Regions from separate parts of the Homo sapiens genome. Here region 1 is linked to region 2. Evidence: promoter capture Hi-C in 16 types of primary human blood cells and fetal thymus (Javierre and others, 2016). All regions are on one chromosome and are shown on one strand. The core of a region is centred on a gene start or on the middle of the fragment in contact, and the rest is flanking DNA. Distances in the headings are between cores, read along the strand shown.

Region 1 (6,189 bases), core at 3,292-5,791, 710 kb after region 2:
CCTCTTCAAAACTATTTTGAAATTTTCTTCTATTTATTTTTGCAGATAGGCTATAGAATTATTTGCACCACGACTACACCTCCCATACCCTAGAAAAATAAAATAAAATCTTAGATCATTGATAGGAAGTGCCTTAAACCTATATATTTATTTGGGAAGAACTGACCTCTTCATGATATTCACTATTTCCTTCCAGAAATACCAGATGACTAATTATTCAGATGTTTTGTTATATTTTAGTTAAAATTTAATAGATTACCTTATATAAGCTACATAGCCATAAAAGTATCTTATTTTTATTGCTTTATAAATAGAATCATTTTTGGTTATGTCTTATAAGTAATTGCAAATGATATCTAGGAAAGTCTATCTTTATACAGTCATTAATTCTAATAGCTTTTCAGTGAGTTACCCAATCATCTAAGTAGAAAACTATATTTTCTACCAATTATTATTATTGGTAGAAATAATTTCTACCTCATATCTACCGATTATACATTTTCATTTATTTGTTTTTGTCTCATTTTACTGAGAAGAATTTTAAGGAAAATCTTCAGTAATATTAGGGAATATTGGCATATTTTAACCTTTATTTTTAATATAAAGCCTCTAGTGTTTTATCACTAAAAATGATACTGCATCCTTTTTTCTTTTCTATATTACATAAAGTGTATTTATAGTCACAAAAGTTGTTTTTCCCTATTTAAAATCACTGAAAAATCTTGTTTCCCTTCTTTAAGCATATTTTTATATCACTATAAATATTTGCATAAATTTTTAAAATACAAAAGTAAATATGCTTGTTGTAGCAAATTAGTTTATAAAGATACTGAATAGTCTCTTCCACTGAACAACTGCTGGTGCCTTCAAGTCCAACATATTAAGTTGATGGATGTCAGCAATTTGCTGTAGATACTTTCATATGTTGCTCTATCTAGTATATACATGCATGGCTTTTAAAACATTTGAGCAGTAATGTTAGAGAAATAGAAGTCATGCGAAAAGAGGAATGACCACGTCCATCCATTCTTTTCTTATACAACAATGGCTGAGTGCCTACTATGCCTTAGCACTATACTAGGCTAGAATCACAAAGCCTAGTAGCATATGGCCTCTGTCATCAAGGAGGTCACAGCCTGGTAAAGGAGGACAAGCATGTCGCTAAACAAGTACCATAAAATAACGTCGCCATGGTGGATTATATGATATTTGGTGAGGATGCAAAGCAAATGGTCAATATTTGGGAGTTTTAATCAGGAAAAGTTTCAGCGTGGAAGAGATGTTTCAGGTGAGCCTCAAGAGAGTGTAGACAAGAAGAGAAAGGCATTCCAGACAGAAAGAGCAGTTTGAATAAAGGCCCAGAGGCTTGGCTTTCCATCATGTGTTGTGAGAACTACATAACCCATTTGAAATGGCTGGGAAATAGTGTGTGTGTGATGGTGATTGAAGGCGAAAGTGGCATAGCTTTAGGTGGAGACATGCCATTAAAGAAAAAAAAAAAAAACCCTGACACGTAAATCTTGTGGAAGCTACAGAATACTAATATGTGCAAAGGATACATTTTTAACAAAGCATACCGTCAGGTGTTGGCCTCGGATGTTATGTGTGCATAGGTTCGTGAGTCTTTGTACATGCTAGTGTTAGGGCGGATAATCCAATGAAGTCTTACCAACTCTCAGGTAGCTCCGAGTGGGGAGATGACCAAGTCATGCCACCTAAAACATGTCACCAAAAAGCTCCAGCAAAATTTCTTTCACGTGCCAAGTCCCCTGCATCTATCATTTACCCTGCCACCAGTGCCATCTGATGCCATGGCTCAGTTATGTAATTCCTAGAATAGGCTCAGACATGAAGGGGTTGCACTGAAACTATGTACTGAGGGTATCTACGAACCTGGGCAGTTTGTTCTAGGCTGGAGGCGGGAGGGTGAGGGCTGCCTATGGGGTTCTGGCTGTCCTGTACAGTTAGCGTGTACTTAGAGTGTAGAGTTTACCAGAGTGTGTACCACACAACCCTGCTTTCATGAATGACTTCAGAAAAAAAGGGTGTTCTATGGCAAATAAGATTTGGACATACTGCACACTGTTTTTTTTTCTTGTGGAGAATCACAAGGACCATGAGAATATTTAATAAGAGGTTTTTTGCTATCAAGAGGACAGGATTTCCAGGACTTGGTGACATGCTGGATGTGGGGAGAAGGAGGCACATAGAATGGCTCACATGAAGGCGATGAGGTGGACCCCCTGACTCACTAAAAGAGGAGAGGGGCAGGATTTGTGGGGGAAGATGAGGAGTTCGGTTCTGACCTGGTACTTTGAGGTACTCATGATTTAGGGCTTGGGAGAAGGGTCTGGACTCGGGTGGGTGACACTTAAATCACAATGAAAGCTGTGGAACCAAAAAGAACAGAACAGATAAAAATTGGGATGAGAACAGCCCTCAGAAGAACAGTAATGTTCAAAAGGCAGAAAGTGAAGGAAGAGAGGCAGGGGGAAAACTAGCAGAGAGTAGCGTCACAGAATTCAAGGAGAAAAGGGTCTCAAAAAAAATTAGGGATGTCATTTGCAGGGCCTTCCTCATAGGAAGTCACAAGATAATTTCAGCCAAGAGGCATTAGAAATGTAAATACATAGAAAATACAGTCTCTATCTCTTTCCTTCATGCTACTGAGTTTGCTATCAGAGCACTGCATGTGTATAAAAATTTGCAAATTTGGGGAATGCTTACAAGTGCAAATAATTTATAATATTCCAGTCTAATTATTGTTTATTAATATGATTATATCATGTACTATACTTAAGTGCCTCAACTGATATGAAGCAAACATACCTGTTTAACCAGATTCCTAGTTGCCATTCATTTATTTCCATTTGCTAACCCACTTCAATTGATTTTCCAATAATTGATAAAGACACTTGAATGGCCTGAAATGCTTTTTTAAATGAGATGAGTAATCATTTAAAAATGAATGTCTAGTGACAATATTAAATATTTTGAAAAGCCATCTAAACACTTGAAAGACACTATGCTATTCTTTTCTAGTCATCTAAGATATTGTAACAAAGCTTAAATCTCACATTGACCTAAAAATTACTGTTTTATAATCTTCTTAACATATCTCCTGTACACGGAACTCTTCAATATTCTAGTGAGTGACATGCTGTCAGTGTCTTTAGCAGTATTCTTTCTTCCCCAGTAATTTTGTATTATGTTATTTTAGAGCTTTACATGGTAGTATAATCACATTTTATTGTCTTTTAGTAATTCTGGCAAAGTGGTTTTAGAAGCACAATGAAATATGTGTACTTTCAAAGAAGGAAAGTAAAAACATTCTCTTCAAACTCGTTTAAAGCTTTTAAGTCAGACTAGAACATTGAGTCCCAAAAGGGTAAAGTTATGATCTAAAATAAGAACTTATTTTTGCTTCTTTTCTTCAATTTGGAAGTTGTAGTTGTTAGTCATTAAGCGTCCTGGATCCTAGGGTAAAGCTGCTTAGTGTCAGCCTCTGACTTGAACACTTACAAGCCTAGATCATTCATTTTTTATGTGCCTTTCCAAAAAATGGAGTTACAGTGTTTACACTTCATAGGATAAAAACAATAAAAATGAAATCATCACAGAAAACCAAACACCGTATGTTCTCACTTGTAAATGAAAGTTGAACAATGAGAACATGTGGGCACAGGGAGGGAAACATCATACACTGGGACCTTTCACAGGGTTGGGGGTTAGGGGAGGGATAGTATTAGGAGAAATACCTAATGTAGATGACGGGTTGTTGGGTGCAGCAAACCACCGTGGCACATGTATACCTATGTAACAAACCTGCACATTCTGCACATGTATCCCAGAACTTAAAGTATAATTTAAAAAAATGAAATCATCCACAAAAGTACTTACCATGTGTTGGGAATTATGGAAAGCAAACAACTGCTACATTGAAACATGGTCAATGAGTAAAGATATTACATTTTTCTTTCTTCTTCTGTTTAGCAATTATTATACAGATACAAGCCAGAAAGAAGCTTTTCATTTAGAAGCACGAGAAGTATATTCTGTTGATCCATACAACCCAGCCAGCTGATCAGAAGACAAACTGGTGGTATGTAATGAAATGGAATATTATTAATTTACATATAAAATTTCCTTCAACTTGTATTTATCAATAAGCGTAGCATTCACGGTGTATATACATGCTTCTTACTATTGCACAAGTCTTCAGTAATCATGCATAGCAATTGTTCATTTACCTACTTCATTTTGCCAACTAATGTTCCAATTTTTTAATCCATTCATCCATTCAACAAATATTAAACTAAATAGCAAAACAACTAAGAATAAAATCAATAAGATGATAAGCATTATATAGAGACATAATAAAGCAGGCAAGGGGGATAAAGAGAACAGGGTGGTCGCAAGGGAAGCTCTTACTAAGAGAATGTCATTTGAGAAAAAACTCAAGGGAAGTAAAGAGCCAGGGCCGGCCTTGGTGGCTCACGCCTGTAATCCCAGCACTTTGGGAGGCTGAGGCAGGCAGATCATTTGAGGTCAAGAGTTCGAGACCACTCTGTTCAACATGGTAAAACCCTGTCTCTACTAAAAATACAAAAATTAGCCAAGCGTGGTGGTGTGCACCTGTGGTCCCAGCTACTCGGGAGGCTGAGGCAGGAGAATCACTTGAGCCTAGGAGGCGGAGGTTGCAGTGAGCCAAGACTGCGCCACTGTACCCCAGCCTGGACAACAGAGCAAGACTGCATCTCAAAAAAAAAAAAAAAAAAAAAAAAAAGCCAGCCATGTGGCCATATGAGGGAGGAGGATTCCAGAAAGAACAGTAGGTGCAAAGGCCATAAGGCAGTGTGTGCCAGCTGTGTTGGCGGCACAGCAAGGAGGCCAGTGTGGCCTACAGTTGTAGAGATGAAGTCACAGAGATGGGGGTGGGATGTGGGCGAGAGGATGATCGTACAAAGTCTGCTATGTCATTGTAATGGGATGGTGGGCAGGAGAGGATGATTGTATAAAGTGTGCTAGGTCATGGTAAAGAGATTGGTTTTTATTTGGAAGCTTTTAAGGAGAGGAGCAACACATTCACCTTAACTGCTGTGTTAAGAACAGACTGTAGGAAGCCATGGGTGGAAGATGGGAGTCAATGAGGAGGCTGCTGCAATCATCCAGGCAAGAAATTGTCAGTGGCTACCACCAGGTTGTAAGAAGAGGCCAGATTCTGCATGCAATTTTAAGACAGTGACAGTAGGATTCGTGGATAGTTTGTATCAGAATATGAGAGGAAGAGAGCTGTCAATAATGACACGAGGGCTTTTGCCTAAGCAACTGGAAGGATAGAACTGCCATTAATTACATGATTGAGATTGCAAAGAGCAGGACTGGGGAGAAAAATCAGGAGTTCCACTGTGGAGATGTTAAATGTGGATGTCTAATAGACTTGGCAAGAAGACAGCTGATGTACAAGTCTGTATTTTGGGCAATTGGTCCAGGCTGGAGATAAAAATTTGGGCTTTGTCATCATGTGGTTGTACATAACAAGGAGACTGAATAAGATCTCCGAGAAGTGAAAGAGGCTAGCAAAAAGAAAAGGTCCAAGTACTGAGCCCTGGATCCTCCAACATTAGAAGTCATGGAGTGAGAAGGCACCCACTAAGAAGTGAAGGAGCAGCCTCTGATACTATCCAGAGAAGAACCTTAAAGTCAGGCAAAGAAAGAATTTTAGGGAGGAGGGAGTGATCAACTCTGTCCAGTGTTGCTGGTAGGCCAAAAAAATGAGCCCTGAAAACTGACCATTGAAATTCAGTAGCACAATTTTTTTGCTGTTGTTGTTTGAGACAGGGTCTCACTCTGTCGCCCAGGCTGGAGTGCAGTGGTGTGATCTCAGCTCACTGCAGCCTCTACTTCCTAGGTTCAAGTGATTCTCATGCCTCAGTCTCCTGAGTAGCTGGGATTATAGGCAAGCAGCACAAAATTTGCTGCTGAACTTGACAAGACAGTTTTTGAAGAGAGGAAGGAGGCAGGAGCCTGACTGGACGGAGCTTAAGAGAGAATGAAAGGAGAGAAATTGCAGCTATCAAATACAGACAACTCTTTCTAGGTTTTTTTCTATAAAAAGGAGCAAATAAGTAAAGTGCTAGTAAGAGTAAAACATAAAGTCAACAGAAATATTTTTTAAGATTGGAGAAA
Region 2 (3,762 bases), core at 1-2,500:
TTCTCCTTTTCAAAGCGAAGGAAACAAACCCAATTCCCTGCAATCAGGAAGCAGAGTCTCCCTTCCCTTAATCATGCTGCACACTCCCCCAGCACCCCGCCCCTGCTCTCACCTTAAAGTCCTCCAGCAAGGACTCCTTTAACAACAAGTTGTCCAGCTGATCCTTCATTTGCTGCAGGAAGAACAAAAGGAGAATGAACTTGAGGTTTGGGGAAATAACTGAAATGCGGTCTTTTTGATGCCCTTTCATTTAGAGATTTTTTTTTTTAAATAAAATTGGCTCTGGCCCAAAAAAATCAAAAGGGGAGTTTTAAAAACAGAGGATTCAACAGTGATGGGACCATCACTTAAATCAGGTCCTCCTCCTCAGAGTCAAGTTATTTAAAAAATCTGGCCGATTTTGAAGGGAAAGCAGAAGCTTGACTCAGTCCTGGTCTTCTTTCTGCGGAGCTACATTCGGCTTTAAGGGACACCTATGTCAACCCTTCGGGGCCTTGAGCCCCCCTCATGTCCTGTTCTCTGCTTTTCTTTCTCCCCACTGTAGACATCCAGTTTAGCTTGGAAAGATCCCAGGGATTAAGAAGCTCCTTCTAATGCAGGTTTCCCTCATGTAGAGTGCTTCCCTAAACCACTGGTCTTTCAGGTCTGGAAACGCTCTAAGCAGAGGCAATTTAAATTTCCCTGCTGCAAGGCATGGGGAGCATCTTCACCTCGAATCAGACATTTCTTTACTTCTCCTAGCCAATAAAGTATAGAGCGCCAGCAGGATCTTATAAGTTTCTCAGCACGAGAGAGAACGCATTTACTTTATAAGGCAGGTTTCCTGCACATTTACTGTATCATCTGGCTTAGCTTAACTCACCAAACCCATGGCTTGATCTAGGATTCTCTTAAGAATTTAAGTTTGGGGGAATAGGTGTTGGGGATGGAGGTGGAGGCGCAGGAGGAGGGTTCTTATAGTTCCAGGAGAATGTCTAGTTCAGGCAGTCCCAGGAAGAGAGAAAGGACAGGAAGGAATCATACTCACAAAGAAAGTCTTCACTCTGCTGAAGGCATCTCGGAGATCTCGAAGCATGTTAGGCAGGTTGCCTGGGAAGTGGGTGCAGCTGTTCTCAGACTGGGTGCCCTGGCCTGGGCTGGCCCTCACCCCAGTCAGGAGGACCAGGCAACAGAGCAGTGCTGAGCTGTGCATGCCTTCTTTTGCAAGTCTGTCTTGTGGTTTGGTTTTGCAAGAGCAAGCCCCTGATGTGTAGACCTTCACCTCTCTGTCCCCCTTTTATATTGTAAGCTCAGGGAGGCCTCTTCATTCATTAAAAAGCCACAATCAAGGTTTCCCGGCACAGGATTTTTTCTGCTTAGAGCTCCTCCTTCTCTAACCTCTCTAATAAACTTAGTTTTCAATTTTTGCATCGTAAGCAAAAATGATTGGTTGAACATGAACTTCTGCATTACAGCTATTTTTAGGATGGGCTACCTCTCTTAGAATAATTTTTTAGCTTCTCAATTAAAAAAAGTTGATTTCCTGGGGAGAACAGCTGTTCTGTGCGCAGAGGCCCTCAGCTGTGGGTTCTCATTCGCGTGTTCCTAGGTCACAGTGACGTGGACAAATTGCCCATTCCAGAATACAATGGGATTGAGAAATAATTGGGTCCCCCCAACCTGGGATGAATACCCAAGACTTCTCCTTGCTAACTTAGGCAGTCACCTTAGGTCTCTGGGCCTTAGTTTCCCCAAGTAAAAATGAGGGGGTGGGCTAAATATCCTCAAAGTTCCCAAGCAGCCCTTCCATTTTACTTTCCAGAGACTGGCTTCCTACAGTACAGGCGGGGTCACAGGATGTGTTCCAGGCTCCTTTACCCCGATTTCATTAGGATTCTCAGGCACATGTTTCCACCTCTTCAGCTGTCCCCCACCCCAACTGTGCTTGGGGGAAGTGGGTAAGAGTAGTCTGCACTTGCTGAAAGCTTCTTATATGCTAGTCAGGTAGTGCTCACCATGACCCCTACCGTCTCTATTTTATAGTGAGCAAACTGAGGCACAGAGATATTACATCACCTGTACAAGGGTACACCAGTGCCAACTGAGAATTTGGTTTCCTCACCCTACTGTACACCATCTCCAGCACATAGAATGAAACCTTGGATTAAATTGGCCTTAGAGTTTCTTTTAGTTGTAAGCTTCTGTGGCTGGAGTCTAAAGTTTAAAAGATGGGGTGGAAGAAGTTGAAATAACAAGGAAAAGAAGTCAGGATTCCATGGAGGCTGGATAGGAGGTCCCTTACTTTCCTCTTACCTATCCCTACTTCCCCTTCCCAAAGAAGCCTTAGTAGTGTTGTCTTGGATTTGTGTGTGTGTGTGTGTGTGTGTGTGTGTGTGTGTGTGTGTGTGTAGAAGGTAAGGGGAGCCAGTTGGGTTGCGGCGAGGAGTGTTGCTCTACCTGGGGAAGGACCGGGGCAGTGACATCAGGACTTCTTCAGATATCTGGAAAGTCTCTGGGGATCCTTTGATTGAGCCTTCACCTTCCCCTTCCACAGGGGCTTTGCCTGCCATTCCAGTTTAGACTGTAACTGGGAGGAACACTGACCTAGGTGCAGGAGGCCTGGGCTCTGCCTTGGCCCTGCCACTCTATAGTCAGGGCAAATCACTCATCCTCCCTGTGTCTGTTTTTCATCTGTCCCAACAGGGCAATAGCACCTGTCCTCCTGCCTGCCAGGGAGCATTGAGCTTAAGTAGCCATGGACCCAGATGGAGGGCATTTCCAGTGTTCTGCTAGTTCTTCACCTTTCTGCATCAGCAATGGGACAACTCCAGTGGCAGCAGGTTCTGAGCTTGCTGCACTAGAGAAGGTCACTCACTGCAAGGGGTGCAAACACCTTGGGGCCCAGCCAGCGTGAAGTGAGTGGGAGGGAGGGATGAGAGGGCCCACGCCCACCCTGTGGATGTCCCTGCTGTGTGACCTATGGATCAGGGTCAGGGGACTGTGGTGTCTCTTCCCAACTCTTCAGGGAGTGTCAATGTAGAAACCTAAGAATCAGGAAGTGAGAAAGAGCCTGCTAGAAACTAGTATGGAGCTAACTCAGAACTTACTGGTCCTGCCAGACTTAGACTGGCTTAAGGGTTCTGTCTGAGTTCTGCTGCCAGGAAGCAGAGAGAAGGGGACCAGGACCTGGGTTTCCCCTTCTTGCACCTTTCTCCTTCCCCCTCGGCTCCTGGGTTTTCTGGGCTGTGTCTGTGTTAGCCTGCAGGTCTAACCCCCTCTCTGAGCTGGGTGTTCCAGAAGTGGACTCAGCATGGGCACCAGGCAGGCCAGGGGTTCTGGACTCTGGGTGAGGCTGTGAACCCCTCCTTCCTTTGTTTCCCATCTTGCCTTGTGCTTACCTCACTAGGAAACCTGCAACCCTACGTGGTTATCATTCATGTACACACCATGCCCTGCCGAATCAGCTTTGAGCTCCCTGAAACAGGACATTGTTTTATTAATCTTTGCGTACTTGGTACTTAGCACCAAGTCTGGCCCTTGGAAGGTATCAGCTATACTTGGGATGGGCATAGAAGAGTGCCCTGTAAGCCTGGAGGGTGCGAGGCTAAGGAGGTGGTCTGGGCACAGGTAAGCATTCAGAAGGAGAGGGAGAGTGACTCAGGGATGCAGGCAGCCTCCCTTCAATTTCCTTATATGAGATGTGTGTGTAAATACACACACACACACATACAAAATGTCAGGGAGAAGGGAGGTATGTAAAAGCCATTTGTACCTTTCTTTCAT

What was found. Contacts are between HindIII fragments. The CHiCAGO score rates a contact against its expected background, and 5 or more counts as called.
Region 1: a contact is called between a fragment that was not itself captured here and the fragment with the promoter of IL10 in region 2, in 1 of 17 cell types (endothelial precursors). The highest score is 6.8, in endothelial precursors.

What each region holds. Positions count from the first base shown.
Region 1 is chr1:207,481,471-207,487,659 of GRCh38, forward strand. CR2 (complement C3d receptor 2) reads left to right here. Exons shown (of 20, transcript NM_001006658.3): 19 at 3,994-4,102. The coding sequence ends at 4,084. Among named protein-coding and RNA genes, the nearest start is that of CR1, 12 kb to the right of the region's middle. The HindIII fragment of the contact is 1,036 bases long and covers 4,024-5,059 here.
Region 2 is chr1:206,771,244-206,775,005 of GRCh38, forward strand. IL10 (interleukin 10) reads right to left here and starts at 1,251. Exons shown (of 5, transcript NM_000572.3): 1 at 1,028-1,251; 2 at 113-172. The coding sequence starts at 1,192. All of the region lies in intron 1 of IL19 (interleukin 19), which reads left to right. RefSeq lists cis regulatory regions at 880-1,501, 962-1,501. The HindIII fragment of the contact is 1,546 bases long and covers 417-1,962 here.